Linked DNA regions of Homo sapiens: all the other regions are linked to region 1. The links are contacts of gene promoters, found by promoter capture Hi-C in human tissues and cell types (Jung and others, 2019). All regions are on one chromosome and are shown on one strand. The core of a region is centred on a gene start or on the middle of the fragment in contact, and the rest is flanking DNA. Distances in the headings are between cores, read along the strand shown.

Region 1 (3,937 bases), core at 705-3,204:
GACAAGGACAAAGAGAAGAAAGTCAGGATTTGCGTCTTTTTTTGTTTGTTTTTGAGACGGAGTCTCGCTCTGTCGCCCAGGCTGGAGTGCAGTGGCACAATCTCGGCTCACTGCAAGCTCCGCCGCCCGGGTTCATGCCATTCTCCTGCCTCCGCCTCCCAAGTAGCTGGGACTACAGGCGCCCGCCACCACGCCCAGCTAATTTTTTGTATTTTTAGTAGAGATGGGTTTTCACCATGTTAGCCAGGATGGTCTCAATCTCCTGACCTCGTGATCCGCCGCCTTGGCCTCCCAAAGTGCTGGGATTACAGGCATGAGCCACCGCGTCCGGACCCTTGTGTCCATTTTTAATTTAATTTTTTCAGACAAGGTCTCACTTTGTCACCCAGGTTGGAGTGCAGTGGTGCGATCTTGGCTCACTGCAACCTCTGCCTCCCAGGCTCAAGTGATCCTCCCACCTAAGTCTCCCTAGTGGCTGGGAGCACGGGCACGTGCCACCATGCCCGGCTAATTTTTTGCACTTTTTGTAGACAGGGTTTCACCATGTTGCTCAGCCTTGTCTCGAACTCCTGGGCTCAGGCAATCTGCCCGCCTTGCCTCCGAAAGTACTGGGATTACAGGCGTGAGCCACTGCACCCAGCCTAGGATTTGTGTCCTTTATCAGACACGGGCTGCATTTGCCATTGCTCCCAGCATAGAGTTGAAGCGCCACTAGTGAAAGACACATGCATGGGTGAGGGCTGGAAGGGACTCTAGAACACAATATGAGTACACGACCTTGGACCCAAGACACACATGTGTGCGTACACACACACACCATACACACCCCTCAGAATGTGTCTCCCGCACACACACCTCAAAACACCCCTAAGAACCAACCGGAACATACACACTACACAATACACACAGAATACACACAGCATACACACACCCCCCTCGGAATGTGTTCCCACACACGAACCTCAAAATACCCCTAAGAGCCCACCTGAACATACACCACACACACACAGAACCCAAGAACTGCACCAACCCCCCTCCTCAGAACCCAGTGCCTCCTCACCATCCCCCAGGACCCAGTGCCCTCCCAACCCCCCAGGATCCAGCATTCGCTTATCCCCTTCAGAACCTTGCACCCTCACCCCGCAGGACCCAGAGCCCCCTCACCTCCACCAGCACCTGGTGACGCCTCAAACCCCCCAGGACCCAGCACACCTCAGCCCGTGGTGTCCCCTTATCCCACTCAGGACCTGGTCCCCCTCTCTCCCCTAGGACCCAGGGTCCCCTCACCCCCCAGAAGCTGTTGCCCTATCACCCCCAGGACCCGACGGCCCCTTACCCCCAGGACCTAGTGTCCCTCAACCCCAGGACCCGGCACCCCCTCAACCCCCAGGACCTGATGCTCCCCCAACCCCTCAGGAGCCGGGGCCCCCTCACCCCCAGGACCCGGCACCCCCTCAACTCCCAGGACCTGGTGCTCCCCCAACCCCTCAGGACCCGAGGCCAACTCAACCCCAGGACCCAGTACCCCCTCAACCCCTCAGGACCCGGGGCCCGCTCGCTCACCCACCCAGGACCCGGCGGCCGCCACACGCACTCTCGCTCCCGCAGCTCCTCTGGTACCCGCCCTCGTACCTGGCGCATCTGGGCCTCGGCGGCGCCGCCCTCCTGCCTTCGCAGCTGCTCCCGGAAGCGCGCAACCTGCTCCAGCAGCGCGTCCACTAGGGACGGCGCGGCGTCCCCCTCCAGCGCGGCCAGGCGGGCGCGGAGGCGAGCGATGAGGGCGTCGCGGGCAGCGAGCTGGTCCTGCAGGCGGCGCAGCCGCTGTCCGGCCTCGTGGTACAGGGTGCAGAGCGCGGCAGCTGCGCGCGGGGCCTCCTCCCAGCCGCCCGACCCCGGGTCCCGGGACATGGCTGTAGGCCCGCCCGGGAGGCCGCGCGGCCGCCGGCAACTTCCGCGCCCGGGCCCCGCCGGCTGCCGCCCTTCCCGGAACTTTCCCCGGTGCGCCCCGCCCACCCACAACAGCCCGGCCCCGCCCTCCCCCACGCAGCCCCGCCCCCCGCGCAGCCCCGCCCTTCCCCGCGCAGCCCCGCCCGACGGCAGCCCGCCCAGCCCCTTCTCGCCCGGCCCCACCCCTCCCACCGCCTACAGCCCGGCCCCGCCCCTGCCGTCCGCACCCGTCCGGGAGAGTTGGCCTGGCCCCCGAGGCTGTCCACACCCCAGCTGGTGCTGGGCTTATTCCAGTGGCCCCAAACATCCGCCTCTGAGGAGTTGTCGGAGAGTCGAACTCAGCCCAGGAGTTTGGGGATTCATCAGCCTCTGATGGAAAGGAAGGGCTTAACGACAACCCCCAAGCTCTGGAGCTAAGTGTGGGTCTGAATCTCCCCGCGAGGGTCCAGGCCTTGCGGCCACAGCAGCAACAGAAGCTCCAGGAGCTGAGCTCGCAGCGCACCAAGCACGTGGCATGTGTTCCGTCACCTGGGGACACTGAGCCCAGAAAGAGCTCCAACCCCCTGCCCCGCACGCCGCTTTCTTTTTTCTTTCCTTTTTTTTCTTCTTTTTGAGACGGAGTTTCGCTCTGTTGCCCAGGCTGGAGTGTAATGGCGCGATCTCGGCTCACTACAACCTCCGCCTCCCAGTTTCAAGCGATTCTCCTGCCTCAGCCTCCTGAGTAGCTGGGATTACAGGCGCCCGCCACCATGCCCTGCTAATTTTTTGGTATTATTAGTAGAGATGGTGTTTCACCATGTTGGCCAGGCTGGTCTTGAACTCCTGACCTCAGGTAGATCCACCGGCCTCAGCCTCCCAAAGTGCTGGGATTACAGGCGTCAGCCACTGCAGACGCTGCTTTGTAAGGTGGCTAGTATGGGCCCACGGGACAACCTTCCTGCTAGATGCTGTTCTTATATAGCAGAAGCAGCAGGAAACCAGCCCCTTCCCACCCTTTCGCTTTTCCATCCCTTTCCTTCCCCAAAATTCCCAGACAAACGCTAGTGTTTTTCCACAGCCCAGTCTTCCCCACAATGATGCCCAAGCACACATGGGGTCTTTCCAAGGTTCCCTACTCAGGATAGGGCAGGGGTCTTCCCTGTGTGTGCACTTGCCCACAGGCTCCGCCCCTGAGCAGCTTCTTGACTTTCTTCCCTTATGTGATCCACAGCCAAGCCTGAGCTGAGCCTGGGAAAACACAAGCTTGTAGAATCAGACAAGCCTATAAGCAAAGCCAGAGCCACCCAAGTGCTTATGGCCCGGACATTGGGCTACACAGGCCTGGCTTTGCTATGGAAGGCTCCTTCTTACTCATCAGAGCCTGGGCTTCCTCTCAGCAGAAGGAAGGGCAGAGCGAGTGCCCACCCTACCTGGTTGGGCTGTTGTGGGGACTAGAGGGTGGAGTGTGCATGGAATGCTTGTCCAGTGCAGTGGCTGCTGCACAGCAAGCCTACAGTCCCCATGGCTATGGTTACAAACAATGCCTATTGATTGTCTGGGGCATGAGTGGAAAAAACAAAACTGGACCCAGAGCTGTTAGAGGCTAATGTGTGGCCTGGGGCACGTCATTCCAGTGACCTACCTTGAGCCTCTGCCTCAACTGTAAAAGGTGCATGTGACAATCCACAGTCTCTCATCCAACAACAGCCTTGGGGTCAGGTGTGGTGTATTGTATTGTATTGTACTGTACTGTATCGTATTGATTTATTTTAGACGGAGTCTCAATCTGTCGCCCAGGCTGGAGTGCAGTGGTGTGATTTTTGGCTCATTGCAACCTCCGCCTCCCAGGTTCAAGTGATTCTCCCACCTCAGCCTCCCAATTAGCTGGGATTACAGGCGCCCGCCACCACGCCTGGCTAATTTTTTGTATTTTAGTAGAGACGGGGTTTCACCATATTGGTCAGGCTGGTCTCGAACTCCCGGCCTCAAGTGATCCGCCTGCCTCGGCCTC
Region 2 (3,937 bases), core at 839-3,338, 490 kb before region 1:
TCTGGCCCCCTGCTCCGCCCAGCTACTTGTCTGGGCTGGCTGAGGAAACCTCCAGGGCAGTGCTGCCCACCCGAGGAAGGGGCCAAGCCGCCAGCCCTGGGCTGCCTCAGGCCCCGGGGGAGCGGGGCTCGGCCCAGAGGAGCCAGGGGAGATGCACCAGAGTTGGGGAGCCCTCTGTCTCCCTCACCAGTGCCCCCATGGTCTCTGTCCCAGCAGAATGTGGACAGCTGGGACCCCATCTCAGGAACAGGCGTCATCAGAGATGGGTGAGTGGCAGGCAAGTAACCAAACCTCTCCTTGCCTCAGTTTCCTTGGCCATAGAGATAAAAATCACATCACCTCTCTGAGCCTGGGGTGAAGATGAACTGGCTGCATGTGTGAAACGCTCAGCATAGAGGCAGTGTTCGGGCAGCCTTGGCCAGGACGCTGGTTGTCAGCTTTGGATTCTCCATGCTGGGGGAGCCCCAGCTCACGCCCCAGAGTTCTCCACGGGTCAGGGACTTGGTTTGGAGAGAAGCGGCAGCGGGGGCCGGGCTTGCTCACTGAGGAGGCCTGAGGCAATGGTTCCCTCGTCACACTCCTGTCCTTCCCCAAACTGTCCCCAGTAGGGGACCAGGGGCTGGGACTCAGGGACGGGTCCCAGCCAGGGCAGCTGGAGACTCAACCAATTCCTCGCCTGGCTCAGGATGCCACAGAAATGGGTCCCTACACCAGCCTTTCGGATTCCCTAGAACAGGTGGACCACAGGAATGAGCCATGCCCTGGGGCTCTGAAGCCCCCTACAAACGCAGCTCCCAGCCTGCTCACACAAAAGGGCTGGGCCAAGGTGGGCCCAGACAGGACCAGGTGTGCTATGGTCCTCACAGCAGCCAGGAGGGTGGAAATCCCCGGGGAGCCCCGGCCCAGGGTCCCCACTCCCCACGCGGGGGACCTGTACGCACCCCAGCTTCAGGGCTTCTGCTGCCTGAACACGAGGTCAAGGTATGGAGGGCGCAGCTGGCACCCGTAGTAACGACTTCATGGGGCCCCTGCCCTGCAGCCTGCCCCCTCCTCCCGCCCCCTTAAAAGGCCTCTGTCTTAAAAAAGAGGACCCCCATACTGGTGGCTGGAGTTTCGCTGTGTCAGGAGGCTGGGCAGAAGCGGTGGGCACCCTGGGAGGAGTGAGGGCCCAGGACAGCGCCTCCACTCGCTTCTCTGTCTAGGCTCCTGGGGGCGGGGGAAGGTGGCCGAGCAGCAGAGTTCGGCTGGCAGAGCCAGTCGAAAGGAGGCCGCCCACCCACCCGCGGAGAGAAGGGGTTAGGGCCGGCAGCCCCCGCAGACCCTGGCTGAGCCTGTTTCCCCAGACCCACGGGGCACCGGCCAGCGCCCGCTGACAACTTTTCTACCGCCTGGAAAAGTCCAGAACAACTCGGGGGCGGGGAGCGGGCGCGGGAGCGGACCCCGGCGGCGGGCGCTGTACGCGTGGCACTGTTTACGCGAGCGGCCCGGGAGGCGCGGCCGCGGGAAGATGGCGACGGCGAGGGCGGGGCCGGCCGGGCGGGGCTGCGGCCGCGGCCTGCGCGCCTCCTCCTCCAGGCTGGCCGCCGGGGCGCGCGGCGGCGGCGCTGAGGGCCGCGGGCCGGGAATCGGGGCCCGGAGAGCACGCTCCGGGCGGGGGCGGGGGTTCGGACCGGGCCGGGCGGGGTCGGGAGCGGGGGGCGGTACCTGTTGTTCGGGGCCTTGCGCACCAGGCCGGCCGCCTTTGTTTTCTCCCTGGCGAAGTCGCCGTCGAAGGGCAGCACCGAGGCGTAGCCGTGCTCGGCCTCTGCGGACACACGGCGCGGTCAGCGGCCCCCGCCCGGCACGGCCCCGCCGCCCGCCCACCGCCGCGGGCGCACAATGGGGTGCGAGCGCTACCTCGATCCCTGCGCTCCAGGTACTCGGCCGCCTCCAGCAGGATCAGCAGGGAGTTCAGCTCCATCCTCCCGCCCGCGCCCGTCCGCCCCGGGACGGCGGCGGCCGCTGCCCGGCCCGCTCCGGCCGGCTCCGCTCGCCGCCCACCCCGCGCGCCCGGCCGCCGCACTTCCAGACTCCGCGGACTCCGGCGCTCGGCCGCCACCCTCCGCCTCAGGCCCTCAAATTGACACATAAGGGAGAGCGGCGGCCCGCAGAGCCAATGGGAGGCGGCGTTCGCGCCCCGGGGGCGGGCGCCGGGCCGGGCTGGGGCCAATGGGGACGGGTCGAGCGCCTCGGGCCGGGCCGAGAATGTTGACAGATGCAGAGCTGGGCTGGGATAGGCCGGCCGCGCTAGTAACAATTTAGAAGCCCGAGCTTAGCAACAGCACGTGGTGGCCCGGCCCCCGCGCTAGCTGACTGGCGGCCGCCGTGCATGTTAAGTAGGCGCCGCGCGCCGATTGGCCAGAGCGGCCTATGTAAAACAGGCACTGCGAGCCAATGGCCGGTGGCGGGGCGCGCGGCCAATGAGGGCGCCGCAGCCGGACGCGTTGCCGAGAGGAAGCGCAGCGCGCGGGGACCGCCCGCCGTCCTGGGGGCCCGTTAGGACGCAGGAGCGTCTCCGCTACGAGAGCGAAGCAGGGCGCTCCGGGGCGTGCGCCGGGCCGGGCCGGGCCGCCGGGTCTGAGCGCGACGAAAGCAGTGGCTGCGTGGGGGGACGAGGCCTCGCGCTCTGCCCGGGGGTCTTGCGTGGGGCCGTGAACGACTCCCCTCCCCGCCGGGCGCAGAGTGGCCCCGGGAAGGGCCGGGACCTCGGAGAGGGACGCAGACGCTCTGATCCTAAGAGCCAGGCGTCTCTGAGGGTGTCAGTGGGGAAACAGGCCCAGAGCGGGCGGGCTCCTCAGATCGCCCAGTGGACGCCGGAGCTGAGGGAGGGCCCAGGTCTGGGGAAGGGACACAGACGTGCGGCCAGAGTCGAGAGGCTCCCCGGAGTGGGGGGCTGCATGCTCTGTGTCTGGCCTGAGGGGCAGGGACGTTCCTAGAGGCAGGCGCTGGCCACCTCTGGCCGAGGACGCCCTAAGTGGGGACGGGAGTGAACCCTTCATCAAATCCCAGCTGGCGGGTCTCCCTAGTGACCCCTGACCCTAAGGCTGGCCCAGACTGGCCTCGGCACCCCCCACCCTCTCGCAGATTTTTTTTTTTTTTTTTTTTGAGACGGCTCTGTTGCCCAGGCTGGAATGCAGTGGCGTGATGTCAGTTCACTGCAACCTCCGCCTCCCGGGTTCAAGCGATTCCCCTGCCTCAGCCTCCCAAGTAGCTGGGACTACAGGCGCGTGCCACCACGCCCAGCTAATTTTTGTATTTTTAGTAGAGATGGGGTTTCACCATGGATGGTCTGGATCTCCTGACCTCGTGATCCGCCCGCCTCGGCCTCCCAAAGTTCTGGGATTACAGGTGTGAGCCACCTCGCCCGACCCATCTCACTGATTTGATTTTTGAGGTTGGTGGCCTGGATGTGCCAAGGGCCAGGCCCCGCAGGCTGGAGAGTGTGGAGGCATAAGGTGGCTGGACCCCTCCAGAAGTACTCAGTGGGACACAGGGGCTGCTGCTGGCAATGAAACTGAACAAAAAATGCAAAACCTCAGCACCAGGACTCCTGTGAAAGCTTCGTGTGCATCTCCCTGTGTTTTGCATGCCCGGCTTGCAGATCAGGACATGGGACTAGACGCTCAGGGATTTGCTGGGGTCTCCCAGAAATCTCAGCAGAATGGAGATTAGTGCTGCCACACACGGCTCAGGGCTATAGGAATGCAGAGGCCAGAGCCTCCTGGCCTGGCTGGTCCTGCTGGGTGTAAGCCTGTGGTGTGGGCTTCAGAATAATGTGTGTTCCCACAGAGCCCTGCAGGACCCAGTGGGGAACTCGGACACTGCTATGAGACAGCCCTGCATGGACATTGAGACAACCCCCTTGATGTTAGCAGGGGCCCTTCCTGTTCCCGCCCCA
Region 3 (3,937 bases), core at 1,090-3,589, 450 kb after region 1:
ATTTGTGCATTTGAGTCTTAGATGATCTGTTTTACATTTATTAAGAAAGCCTTTATTAGCTTTTATACTGTGTATTGCCTGTTGCAGTGTTTGAGTATAAATGAAATTTCTGGAAAATATTAATGGAGTACAAACTGTGATACTTAAAAGTAAACTAGGGCCTGCATTTGTATCATGACCTGTTTGAGTATTGATGAGAAGATAGCTGTGAAGAAAAAGGTTTAAACAAGTGTATTTTCCTTTAAGAAGCCACTAATAGTGCATCTCCTTAGAGTGTATATTTCTAGAATCCTAGTGTGCAGAGTTTAGACTAAGACTAAAAAAAAAAAAAAACAAATTATACTGTAATTTCATTTTTATTTGTATTTTAGACACCAAAGGCTCTATTCCCTGCTGGACAGGTTTCGTCTCTCCACCATGCAAGACTCACTTAGTCCCTCTCCTCCAGTCTCTTCCCACCCGCTGGACGGGGATGGGCACGTGTCACTGGAAACAGTGAGTCCGGACAAAGTAAGTGTCCAGCGTGTCTGCATGGGAGGCACAGGGCGCTGAGTGCCTCTGTCACCTGTGGCAGATACAGAGAGTGCAGAGGAGGTGCCGTGGACCCAAGGAGTTCTGGCGCTCGGCTCGGCTCAGTGAAGCTGTGGTTAGAGACGTGGGGGGCCATCAAGGTCTGAGGGAGCCAAGCAGTGCTGATGTGGGACCCTTTTGGTAGGAGTGTGGGGTGAGTAGTTAGTGGGTGAATCAAGGAATAGTCGGCCGTGGCCTGCAGGCCCCTGACTGCACAGGCCTTCAAGCACATGTCAATGCCGTTAGCCTCCCTCCATCTCCTCATACCTTCTGGCCACCTGTGAGTTGCACTGCCACTGCCAGCCATTCTGGTATGTTGTCAGCACCTCCACTGCTCATACCTCATGGTTAGGGACCACCTGGAGCCTTGGTAGAGCCTTGGTAGAGCCTTGGTACTCTACTTTCCTGGACAAAGTTCAGCTTATGAATATGAATTTAGATTTCAAAAACCAGCAGCCCAAGTATAAGAAAGCGAAGGTTCAGTCCTGCCTTCTTAGGCTCTATTCGCTAAGCACCTGCCCTGCCCTGGTTGCTGGGGAGAGATGAGTAAAGCAGACAACCCAGGAGAGGATGGCAAAGGGGCCGCTAACCCTTAGTGGTTTAGCTATATTTGGAAGGCCTATTGGAAGTTCACCAGGTGAAGGGGGAGGCTGTGAGGGTGCCCAGGCAGGTAACAGAAGTCCAAAGGGGAAAACCTGTGGTGTGGTGAGCCGTATAGCCACAGCCTGCCGGCCGGCAGCCCTCTCAGCCTAGTGCGGTGTTCCCAAGCACTGGCCTAGGCCTGTAGCTCCAGGGATGTGAAGTCCCCTTGAACGCCGCCCATCATGTTCCCCTTATCCATTTTTTTCTTCCCAGGACTGGTACGTTCATCTTGTCAAATCCCAGTGTTGGACCAGGTCAGATTCTGCACTGCTGGAAGGTGCAGAGCTGGTGAATCGGATTCCTGCTGAAGATATGAATGCCTTCATGATGAACTCGGTACGGGGGGAGCAGTGGAGGCAAGGAATCCTCAGCTTTTCTTGTGACTTCCAAGTGGGATTTGTCTCATCATCATGTGACCCACTTGTTGACAACACATGTTGGGGACTCCAGTCTGGGCAGGGACGGGATGTCGGAGAGACTCCACTCTGAATGGGGCCGGGAAGTGGGGAGGACTCCATTTCAGATGGGGTCGGGACATGGGGGTTATGCTGATCGAGACAGAAAAGCACATTGTTTCAGCCACATTAGAATCCACGGAGGTGTTGTTTTGAAATCCAGCTGGCCCCAAGGCTGGGTGTATGGTTTGGGATGAGAACTATCTGGCCTCCACTGGAGGAACAAACACAGGATGTTATCATCTAAGCTCCATGGCCAAGACAGAATGGAAGTCAAGGTTGCGTATTTGCCGTAGACTTCAACACAGTGTCGTAATGCGTGACGTCAATAACTTGTTTCTAGTGTCTTGGAAGTTGATCTTTAGTCGTAAAAGAGACCCTTGGATGCAGCGAGATTTCCTCTACTCACACCTCTGTTAGATGTAGTGAGGTTCTTCACCCCCCAACCCCAGATGTCAGAGGGCACCCTGCGCAGAGCTAGGAGGCCATGCAAAGCCTTGGTGTCCCTGTCCCTCACCCGTGGGCAGGTCCTGTGAGCAGTGGGGGGGCCACCTCTTGGGTATGGTGCAGCCATGGCCCAAGCAGGGCTTCTTCTCAGACCTACTAGGACGGGAGAAACCTCCTGGTGCTTTAGCCCTGCGTTGATATGCAGCAAATGGGAGGGAAGTGGGCACCTGGGAGGACAAATGCCTGTAGAGGCCGGGAGTGACGGCAGGTGTTCATGAAAAGAGACCTTGTGGGGAGGGCAACACAACAGTGTGTTCTGATGTACTGAAGAGCTCAACTGAAAACAACAGGAGAATTAGCCCAAAATCCATTTACTAAAATTGTTTATCTTTTTTTTTTTTTTTGAGACAAAGTCTCGCTGTTGTCCCCCAGGCTGGAGTGCAATGGCGCTATCTTGGCTCACTGCAACCTCCGCCTCCTGGGTTCATACGATTCTCCTGCCTCAGCCTCCCAAATAGCTGGTATTAACAGGCATGCACCACCACGCCCGGCTAATTTTTGTATTTTTAGTAGAGACGGGATTTCACCATGTTGGCCAGGCTGGTCTCAAACTCCTGACCTCAGGTGATCCGCCCACCTCGGCCTCCCAAAGTGCTGGGATTATAGGCCTGAGCCACCACGCCCGGCCTAAAATTGTTTATCTTAAGATTCATGCAGTGAAAGCTAACTTACTGAGTGATAAATTTGCTTAGTGATCTGTTTATTAGGTTTTCCAAATTTGCTAATTGGGCTTTGAACAGCTGTAAAAGTTCTGACTGTAAAAGAAAGCTTCAACTTTTGGCATTCATGATGCTTTTCTGAGTATTAAACTAAGATAGATGTTTTACCTGAAGGATCGGCCACCAATCTTTAAATGGCTAAACAAAAGGGTTGCTAAAACATAATCCAAATTGACATAAGAAATACCATTTTTCCAACCAAAATTTTGGCATTCATATGGCTACTTTTACGTATTTCAGCTGCATTTGAACATCTTTTTCAAACTTTAGGGTGGTTGGTGTATCACTGAGGTCTTGGATGACACTTTAGCTTTGATTTTGTTTTTATGAATTAAAATTGTCATACCAAAATTTTTATTTCAAGCAAATCCAAGAGCATAAAAAATTAAAATATTACTTAAAATACTAAGAGAGAACAGATATATATTTTACTAAGCATATGTTGAATGAAATTGTTCAAATATTTATAACAGGCATAGAGTAGAATTTTCTTAAAAATATTTTTGATGGTATACCAATTTGTATTTTCTCAGAAACATTTGCCTTATTCTTTTTTCTGTTGTGTTTTTCTTACCTGATTGAAAGCTCATAATCTGTTGTTATTGTTTGTTAACCTTTAATGCTCTGATTTCAGGAGTTCAACCTAAGCCTGCTAGCTCCATGCTTAAGCCTAGGGATGAGTGAAATTTCTGGTGGCCAGAAGAGTGCCCTTTTTGAAGCAGCCCGTGAGGTGACTCTGGCCCGTGTGAGCGGCACCGTGCAGCAGCTCCCTGCTGTCCATCATGTCTTCCAGCCCGAGCTGCCTGCAGAGCCGGCGGCCTACTGGAGCAAGTTGAATGATCTGTTTGGTAATTAAAATTAAAATTTATCTTATTTTTAAAAAGCATTCCAGGGCCAGTATAGTACTTTGCACCAAGTAAATGTACAATAAAGGCAGTGGATCTAATACATTGAAAGCGTTTACAGAGGTAGCTAAAGAGCAGCACGGGTGTCCTCGGCTCAGAATTTCTTCCTGTGTGTTTGCCACTTTGCCATTCATTGACA
Region 4 (3,937 bases), core at 1,019-3,518, 330 kb after region 1:
CATAAGCAATATGTATGAGTGTCTGTGTTCCAATAGAATTTTATTAATGACAAGGAAGTTTGAATTTCATATAATTTTCACCTGTCATGAGATAGTATTTGATTATTTTGGTCAACCATTTAAAAATGTAAAAACATTTCTTAGCTTGTGAACTAGCCAAAAATATGCAGGTTATAGTTTTCCCACTCCTAGGTTAAAATATGATAGGACCACATTTGGAAAGCATTTCTTTTTTTTTTTTTTTTTTTTTTTTTGAGACGGAGTTTCACTCTTGTTGCCCAGGCTGGAGTGCAGTGGCGCGATCTCGGCTCACTGCAACCTCTGCCTCCCAGGTTCAAGACATTCTCCTGCACGGCCTCCCTAGTAGCTGGGATTACAGGCATGCGCCACCACACCCAGCTAATTTTGTATTTTTAGTAGAGACGGGGTTTCTCCATGTTGGTCAGGCTGGTCTTGAACTCCTGACCTCAGGTGATCCACCCGCCTCAGCCTCCCAAAGTGCTGGGATTACAGGGTGTGAGCCACCACACCCTGCTGGAAAGCATTTCTTTTTTGGCTGTTTTTGTTTTTTTTTTAAACTAGTTTTGAAAATTATAAAAGTTACACATATACATTATAAAAATATCTTCAAGCAGCACAGATGAAAAACAAAGCCCTTCTTGCAAGTCTGTCATCTTTGTCTAACTTCCTAAGAACAAAAGTGTTTCTTGTGTCTTCTTCCCAGATTTTAATATGCATATACAAGCATTTAAATGTGTCATTTTTTGTTTGCTTGACTGAGATCACATTACATATGTATTTTTTTACTTAACAATGTGTCATAGATATTGTTCCATAGCAGTACCTGTAATTCTTATTAATTGCTATGTAATATTTTAGAATTTCTTTTTAAAAGAGGACTTTTGGAGATGTAAAGGCAAAGGTCTCACATTTTTGTGGCTGTAGAATGTGCTGGTGACATATTCTCTCTACCTTGAGAAGTCCCCATCCCCATCACCTCCATTTCCTGTAAATAAGTCAACCACTTGATAAACTACCTTTGAATGGATCCACACTCAAAACATTTAGTCTTATTCAGACAACAAGGAGGAAAAATAAAATACCTTATAAAGCACTGTTTAATATTGTATTAAATTGGATCAATTTGGGGGCTAGAATGTATGTTAGAGACATGATATGTCCATAGGTCCTTGCTATCACAGTGAGGTCTCAGGGACAGTCGTTTGGTATCATTTGGGATCTCATAAGCAGACTCTCTCTGCTTGACCTGACAAATCAGAGTCTGTGTTTTAACAGGTTCAGTGAGTGACTTACATGCACATTGGAGTTTGGGAAGCTCCACTGTAGGTGCTTAGACCTTACCTTTGTTGTTGCTAATAACAATGCAAGCATTTGGGAGGAAGACCTGTGTTGCTCATATGTGTCCAGGTGTAGCTGAGGTGGCCTTGCTTATCTGCTGTAGGGCCGTTGAGCATTTCTGTAGCTGTGATGAGTGAGCTGAGGTGAGCCTGCGGAGAGCTCCCAGCCATTGGTAGTGGGACTCGCTTAGATGAACTGGAAGGACCCTTTCATCTGAGCAGCCACTATGGAGAAAAACAACCGAATGAGGGGAGAGACAATGTGCAATTTTATTTAGGGCACAAAGGAGAGCTGTGGTTAGAAGGTGACATTTGAGTGGAAAGGGGGCAAGCCATGTGTATAGCGGGAGAAGAGAGGTCCAGGCAGAGTTAACAGAAGGCAGAAATGCTTTCCATGTTTGAGAACCAGTAAGGAGGCCAGTGGCTGAAGTAAGGTGAAGGGCAGAAATAAGGATGAGGCTGCGAGAGATGAGAGGTTAGAGACGAGCGTCTTGTGCACCAAGATAAGCTTGTGTGGTCAAAACAAGTAGTTTAATTTATGTTTTTAAAAGATCATTTTGGCTGGGCACAATGGTTCATGCCTGTAATACCAGTAGTTTGAGACGGTGTGGTGGGAGGATTGCCTGAGGCCAGACGACCAGCATAGCCAACATAGCAGCACCTATAAGGTCTCTACAAAAAACTTTAAAAAATTAGCTGGGCATAGTGGTGTGTGCCTGTAGTCCCAGCTACTCAGGAGGCTGAGGAGGCTGGAGGATTGCTTGAGTCCAGGAGTTTGAGGCTGCAGTGAGCTATGATTATGCCACTACACTACAACCTGGGCAAGAGAGTGAGACCCTGTCTCTAAATATACACACACACACACACACACACACACACACACACACACACACACACACACACACACATATATATGTATATATATGCATTTAGATGAAAAGATCACTTTGACAATACCACATGCTGGTGAGGATTTAGAAAAACTAGGTCACTTATTGCTGGTGGGAATATAATATAGTACGGCCACTCTGGAAAACAGTTTGGCAGTTTGTCATAAAACTGAACATACCGTTAGTATACAGCCCAGCAGCAACTACAATCCTGGGCATTAATCCTAGAGAAATGAAACCTTAATGTTCACATAAAAACCTATACTCAAGTATGCATAGCAGCTTTACCCATAATATCTAAGAACTGGAATCAGCTCAGATGTCCTTCAACAGGTGAATGGTTAAACTACTCAGTAATAAAAAGGAATGAGCTACTGATAGCATGCAACAGTTTAGGTGAAGTTATGCTAATGAAAAAAGCCAATCCCAAAAGGTTATACATACTGTATGATTCTATGTTTTTTTGCAATGGCACAGTTTTAGGGATGGAGAATAGATTAGTGGTTGCCTGGGGTTAGAGATGGGGTAGTAGAGTAGGTTAGTGGTGGCAGAGGAGAGAAAAGAGAGGGAGGTGAATGTGGTTATAAAAGGACAACACAGGGGAATACTTGTAATGGAAATGCTTTGTCTTTTTTTTTTTTTTTTTTTTTTTGGCGACAGAGTCTTGCTCTGTTGCCCAGGCTGGAGTGCAGTGGCATGATCTTTTCTCACTGCAACCTCTGCCTCCTGGGTTCAAGTGATACTTGTGTCTCAGTCTCCCATGTTCAGAGTGAAACAAACCAGAGGTAATGTTCATCCAAATAATCCAACACACATGACATTAAAACATCAAGATCAGGTCGGACGTGGTGGCTCATGCCTGTAATCCCAGCACTTTTGGGAGGCCAAGGTGGGCAGATCACTTGAGGTCAGGAGTTCGAGACCAGCCGGGCCAACATGATGAAACCCCATCTTGACTAAAAATACAAAAATTAGCCGGGCATGGTGGTGTGCACCTGTAGTCCCAGCTACTTGGGAGGCTGAGGCAAGAGAACTGCTTGAACCCGAGGGGCAGAGGTTGCAGTGAGCTGAGAGTGCGCCATTGCACTTCAGCCTGTGTGACAGAGTAAGACTCCATCTCCAAAAAAAAAAAACCAAGATCAATTAAAATACAGCATTACTGGGCCGGGTGTGGTGGCTCACACCTGTAATCCCAGCACTTTGGGAGGCCGAGATGGGCAGATCACGAGGTCAGGAGATCCAGACCATCCCGGCTAACACGGTGAAACCCCGTCTCTACTAAAAAATACAAAAAATTAGCCGGGTATAGTGGTGGGTGCCTGTAGTCCCAGCTACTTGGGAGGCTGAAGCAGGAGAATGGTGTGAACCCGGGAGGCAGAGCTGGCAGTGAGCTGAGATCGCGCCACTGCACTCCAGCCTGGGCGACAGAGCAAGACTCCGTCTCGGGGGAAAAAAAAAAATAAATAAATAGAATGCTGTAGTGTCCTTGAGTTTACATGCCCCTCCTTACGCTTGTGTGCCCGTGCAGATTGCTTGATTACACAATTAGAGGAGGCTGGCGGAGGATTGTTTTAATTTTTTTTTTTTTGAGACAGTCTGGCTCTGTTCCCCAGGCTAGAGTGCAATGGCGCAATCTTGGTGCACTGCAACCTCTGCCTCCTGGGTTCAAGCAGTTCTTCTGCCGCAGCC
Region 5 (3,937 bases), core at 381-2,880, 310 kb after region 1:
GAGTGAATCACCAGAAAGATCAAGCCAGAGTTAGAAGCAGAAAGTGCTGGCTATAACACAGGAAAGCTGTAACACAAATAATAAAGTTTTTTTTTTTTTTTTTGAGATGGAGCCTCACTCTGTTGCCCAGGCTGGAGTGCAATGGTGCAATCTCAGCTCACTACAAGCTCTGCCTCCCAGGTTCAAGTGATTCTCCTGCCTCAGCCTCCTGAGCAGTTGGGACTACAGGTGTGTGCCACCACATCTGGCTAATTTTTGTATTTTTAGCAGAGACGGGGTTTCACCATATTAACCAGGCTGGCCTCAAACTCCTTACCTTGTGATCCGCCTGCCTCAGCCTCCCAAAGTGCTGGGATTACAGGCATGAGCCACCGTGCCTGGCCAAAAGACATTGTTCTTAAAAGAATCAACTAACTAACCAAATAAATAAAAATCTAACCTAATTAAGAAACTAAAAATACACAAAAATTAATTTCAAGGGGAGAAAAATCATGTAAAGAGAGAAAGATAATGAATACTTTGCAGAAATTTATGAACATAAACATAAAACTTGGATGAAATGCATTTCTAGGAAAACATAATTTATCAAAACTAACCACAAGTAAAATAGAAGCCTAAATAGGATATTTTCAAGAGAAGAAGTAAAGTTGTCAAAGTGCTACCCTTCAAAAAAACACCAGGCTCAAACAATCTGACATGGGAATGTTAGCACACCTTAGAGAGCAAATAAAACTTTGAATGGGCTTGAAATATTCCAGACTCTAGAAAAACAAAACTTCCCAATTCTTTTTATAAAGCAAGTATAAATTGATACCAAAATCTTATAAAGACCTTATACAAAACTTCATACCAATCTCTTTTATGAATACAAAACCCTTAATAAAGTATTACCAGACAGAACCCAACAATACATAAAAATGTCACATCATAACATAGTGGGGTTTATTTCAATAATGCATGGATGGTTCAATACAAGGAAATTCAGTAACACAATATAATAGATCATGTGAATATACCCAAAGAAAAAATAGATTATTTTCATAGATGCTGTAAAGGCATTTGACCAAATTCAACACCTACTTTTTAGGTGGTCAATAAAATAAATTAGTTACTCCTTCTTTAGCATGATAAAATATATTTATCAGCCCAGAAGGCATCATTTTACCCGATAAGGGCACACGCTGGAGGGAATAATGTTAAAATTAGGAATAAGAGGATAGCTAGTTTCTTTCTTCTTTTTTTTTTTTGAGACGGAGTCTTGCTCTGTTGCCAGGCTGGAGTGCAGTGGTGCAATGTTGGCTCACTGCACGCCCCCCGCCTCCCAGGTTCAAGCGATTCTCCTGCCTCAGCCTCCCGAGTAGCTGGGACTACAGGCGCGCACCACCATGCCCGGCTAATTTTTTTTTGTATTTTAGTAGAGATGGGGTTTCACCATGTTGGTCAGGCTGGTCTTGAACTCCCAACCTCACGTACTGGGATTACCGGTGTGAGCCACCACGCCAGCCCAACTACTTTCAACATTATCCTTAATACTGATGCTTATTGACTTACTATGGGGTTACCTCTAGATAAATCCATAATAAGTTGAAAATATAAGTAAAAAATGCCCTTAATACACCTAACCTACCAAACATCATAGCTGAGCCCAGCCTGCCTTAGCTATGCTCAGACACTGACGTCAGCCTACAATTGGCAAAATCACACAGCAGCACAGTCTACTGCAGAGCATCTGCTGTTTGCCCTTGTGACTGCGTGGCTGCCTGGGAGCTTCCCAGCTTCACAAGACAGTATTACGTAGCACATCACTAGCCTGGGGAAAGATCAAAGTTGAAAATTTGAAGTGTGGTTTCCATTGAATGTGTACTGCTTTTGCACCATCATCAAGTCAAAAAATTTTAGTTGAACCAGCCTAAGTTTGGGACCATCTTTATTTTCAGGAGGAACTTCCATGTACATTGATGACGGACGATAGAATCCGTTTCTATCATCCTAATGAACATAATGAATAAATCCAGACAAACATAAACATTAACAGAGTAAGCAGCTTTCGGGGCTGGAAGCCAGAAGAGGGTGGGAGCGCAGAGAGAGAGGCCAAACACCAGGGCTGCTTCTGCTTTGCGGGTATTTGCTGATCTGGACAAGGTATCTGGAAGGCTGAGCTAAGCCTCCTTTTTTTTTGAGGTGGCGTCTCACTCTGTTGCCAGGCTGGAGTGCAATGGTGCGATCTCAGCTCACTGCAACCTCCACCTCCCTGGTTCAAGCGATTCTCCTGCCTCAGCCTCCCGAGTAGCTGGGATTACAGGCTCCCGCCACTACACCCAGCTGATTTTTGTAATTTTAGTAGAGACGGGGTTTCACCATGTTGGCCAGGATGGTCTCGATCTCTTGACGTCATGATCTGTCCACCTCGGCCTCCCAAAGTGCTGGGATTATAGGCGTGACCCACCGTGCCCCGTCTGAGCTAAGCCTCTTGAGCATAGGGGACTAAAAATGAAATCTAGCGCATGCCAAGTTTAGGGTCCCAGGCAATTCCTTTCCACTTTGGGGTCCACTTTGGGGTCCACCCCACCCAAGAAGAAGGATGACTTGGAAGTAAACCAGCTCTGAAATATGGATGGTCCTCTGGGACCATACCAATCCCTTCATATCAACCACATCCAGTTCCTCAAAACTGGAACTTGGATTAAGATGGCCTAGGACTTCTAGTGTCCCAGGAGCCTGGCATTGCAAACAAAAATCCTCTCCGGAAGAAGATAATACCTTAAGCTTCAAATGACTCTCTAATAAATTTCAAATACAATGTCCAGCACACAAACACAAATTACCAGGAACGTGATATGAGGCCTGATGGATGGGAATTAGCAGAAACTTCAGGCATGAGAAACATACCCTCAGAGGCCTAGAATCTATCTAGTGTCTAGATAATGGAGATATGAAATACAGACACTTAAACAACTATGTTTCCCATGTTCAAAGAGGAAATTTGCAAAACTTGAAAGTGTTGGCAGGAAATCAGAAACTATAAAATGTGACAACAGCATACTTTAGAGTCAGTATAAATTACGGTCCCGAAAACTGCAGAATTCCAGAACTTAATGGTAAAGCAAGGGTTTAACAGCAGAATAGAAATAGCCAGAGAGAACTAGGAAGTAAGTCAGATGACACTACCCAGAATAAGGCACTGAGAGGCCAAGGAATGGAAAATGCAGAAGAAAGGATATGGTGAGAGGATCTAATATACATTTATTTGGAGTACCAGGGAGAGAGAGAAGGAGAAGAACAGAAGCCGTGTTTCAAGGACGGTGACTGAGAGGCTTCGAAACTGATGAAAGCCATCAGTTCACAAATTCAAAGCCCAGTGAATTCCAAGGAGAAAAAAAGAAATCCATACTGTGAAAGCAAGTCCAGACAATGACAAACACCATCAACAATACACAGGACAGGCATAAGATGCATTTAATGGGGACACTCAGAGGCAGAGGGTTATCAGAAGGAGGCACTTCTCTCCCAAGTTCTCATCATCCCAGGGCCAGGGACAGCTGGTCACACCTTAGGGAGTTCACTAGGAGAGGGATCTGGCTTCTTGTCATTCTGGGTATTTGTAGGGAAATTGGAAGGGAACCGAGAGCACCTAGCCAATCGCATAGCAATGGGAGATTTCAGGCTGTGGGGAATGTCTTTGCTGGTGAAAAGAACATCCTGACCTTAGAAATCTTTCACCGAGGGGGATCTGCGTTCCAGAACTTCTGGAGCTGGTATAGGTAAGGCTTTGAGCTTTCCTACTGAGCCAGCCTGTTGCTAGGTTACCAAAGGGGACCTCGAGGGCCATCTGGCCAACAAGCAGACTTGTCTCTCCTTACACCCCCAGACGTATCACTGCAAAACTACAGAAAACCAAAGACAGAGAAAATCTTAAAAGCAGCCAGATTTAAAAAAT

The links. Contacts are between HindIII fragments. The study calls those that stand out against the background at their distance.
Region 2: the fragment with the promoter of MXD4 here is called in contact with the fragment with the promoter of TNIP2 in region 1 in 2 of the 25 tissues and cell types used here (bladder and lymphoblastoid cells).
Region 3: a fragment that was not itself captured here is called in contact with the fragment with the promoter of TNIP2 in region 1 in 1 of the 25 tissues and cell types used here (heart left ventricle).
Region 4: a fragment that was not itself captured here is called in contact with the fragment with the promoter of TNIP2 in region 1 in 2 of the 25 tissues and cell types used here (lymphoblastoid cells and spleen).
Region 5: a fragment that was not itself captured here is called in contact with the fragment with the promoter of TNIP2 in region 1 in 1 of the 25 tissues and cell types used here (IMR-90 fibroblasts).

The regions. Positions count from the first base shown.
Region 1 is chr4:2,754,382-2,758,318 of GRCh38, forward strand. TNIP2 (TNFAIP3 interacting protein 2) reads right to left here and starts at 1,955. Exons shown (of 6, transcript NM_024309.4): 1 at 1,633-1,955. The coding sequence starts at 1,908. RefSeq lists silencers at 1,498-1,557, 1,578-2,097, 2,278-2,417. The HindIII fragment of the contact is 11,459 bases long and covers 1-3,937 here.
Region 2 is chr4:2,260,021-2,263,957 of GRCh38, forward strand. MXD4 (MAX dimerization protein 4) reads right to left here and starts at 2,089. Exons shown (of 6, transcript NM_006454.3): 1 at 1,897-2,089; 2 at 1,705-1,804. The coding sequence starts at 1,960. RefSeq lists enhancers at 616-1,208, 2,440-3,101, 3,102-3,761 and silencers at 1,309-1,368, 1,379-1,768, 1,859-1,918, 1,969-2,808. The HindIII fragment of the contact is 28,165 bases long and covers 1-3,937 here.
Region 3 is chr4:3,208,402-3,212,338 of GRCh38, forward strand. HTT (huntingtin) reads left to right here. Exons shown (of 67, transcript NM_001388492.1): 46 at 372-510; 47 at 1,426-1,548; 48 at 3,528-3,741. Among named protein-coding and RNA genes, the nearest start is that of MSANTD1, 39 kb to the right of the region's middle. The HindIII fragment of the contact is 4,523 bases long and covers 79-3,937 here.
Region 4 is chr4:3,081,322-3,085,258 of GRCh38, forward strand. All of the region lies in intron 1 of HTT (huntingtin), which reads left to right. Among named protein-coding and RNA genes, the nearest start is that of HTT, 8.6 kb to the left of the region's middle. The HindIII fragment of the contact is 5,667 bases long and covers 1-3,937 here.
Region 5 is chr4:3,064,011-3,067,947 of GRCh38, forward strand. It overlaps HTT-AS. Among named protein-coding and RNA genes, the nearest start is that of HTT, 8.7 kb to the right of the region's middle. The HindIII fragment of the contact is 3,839 bases long and covers 1-3,550 here.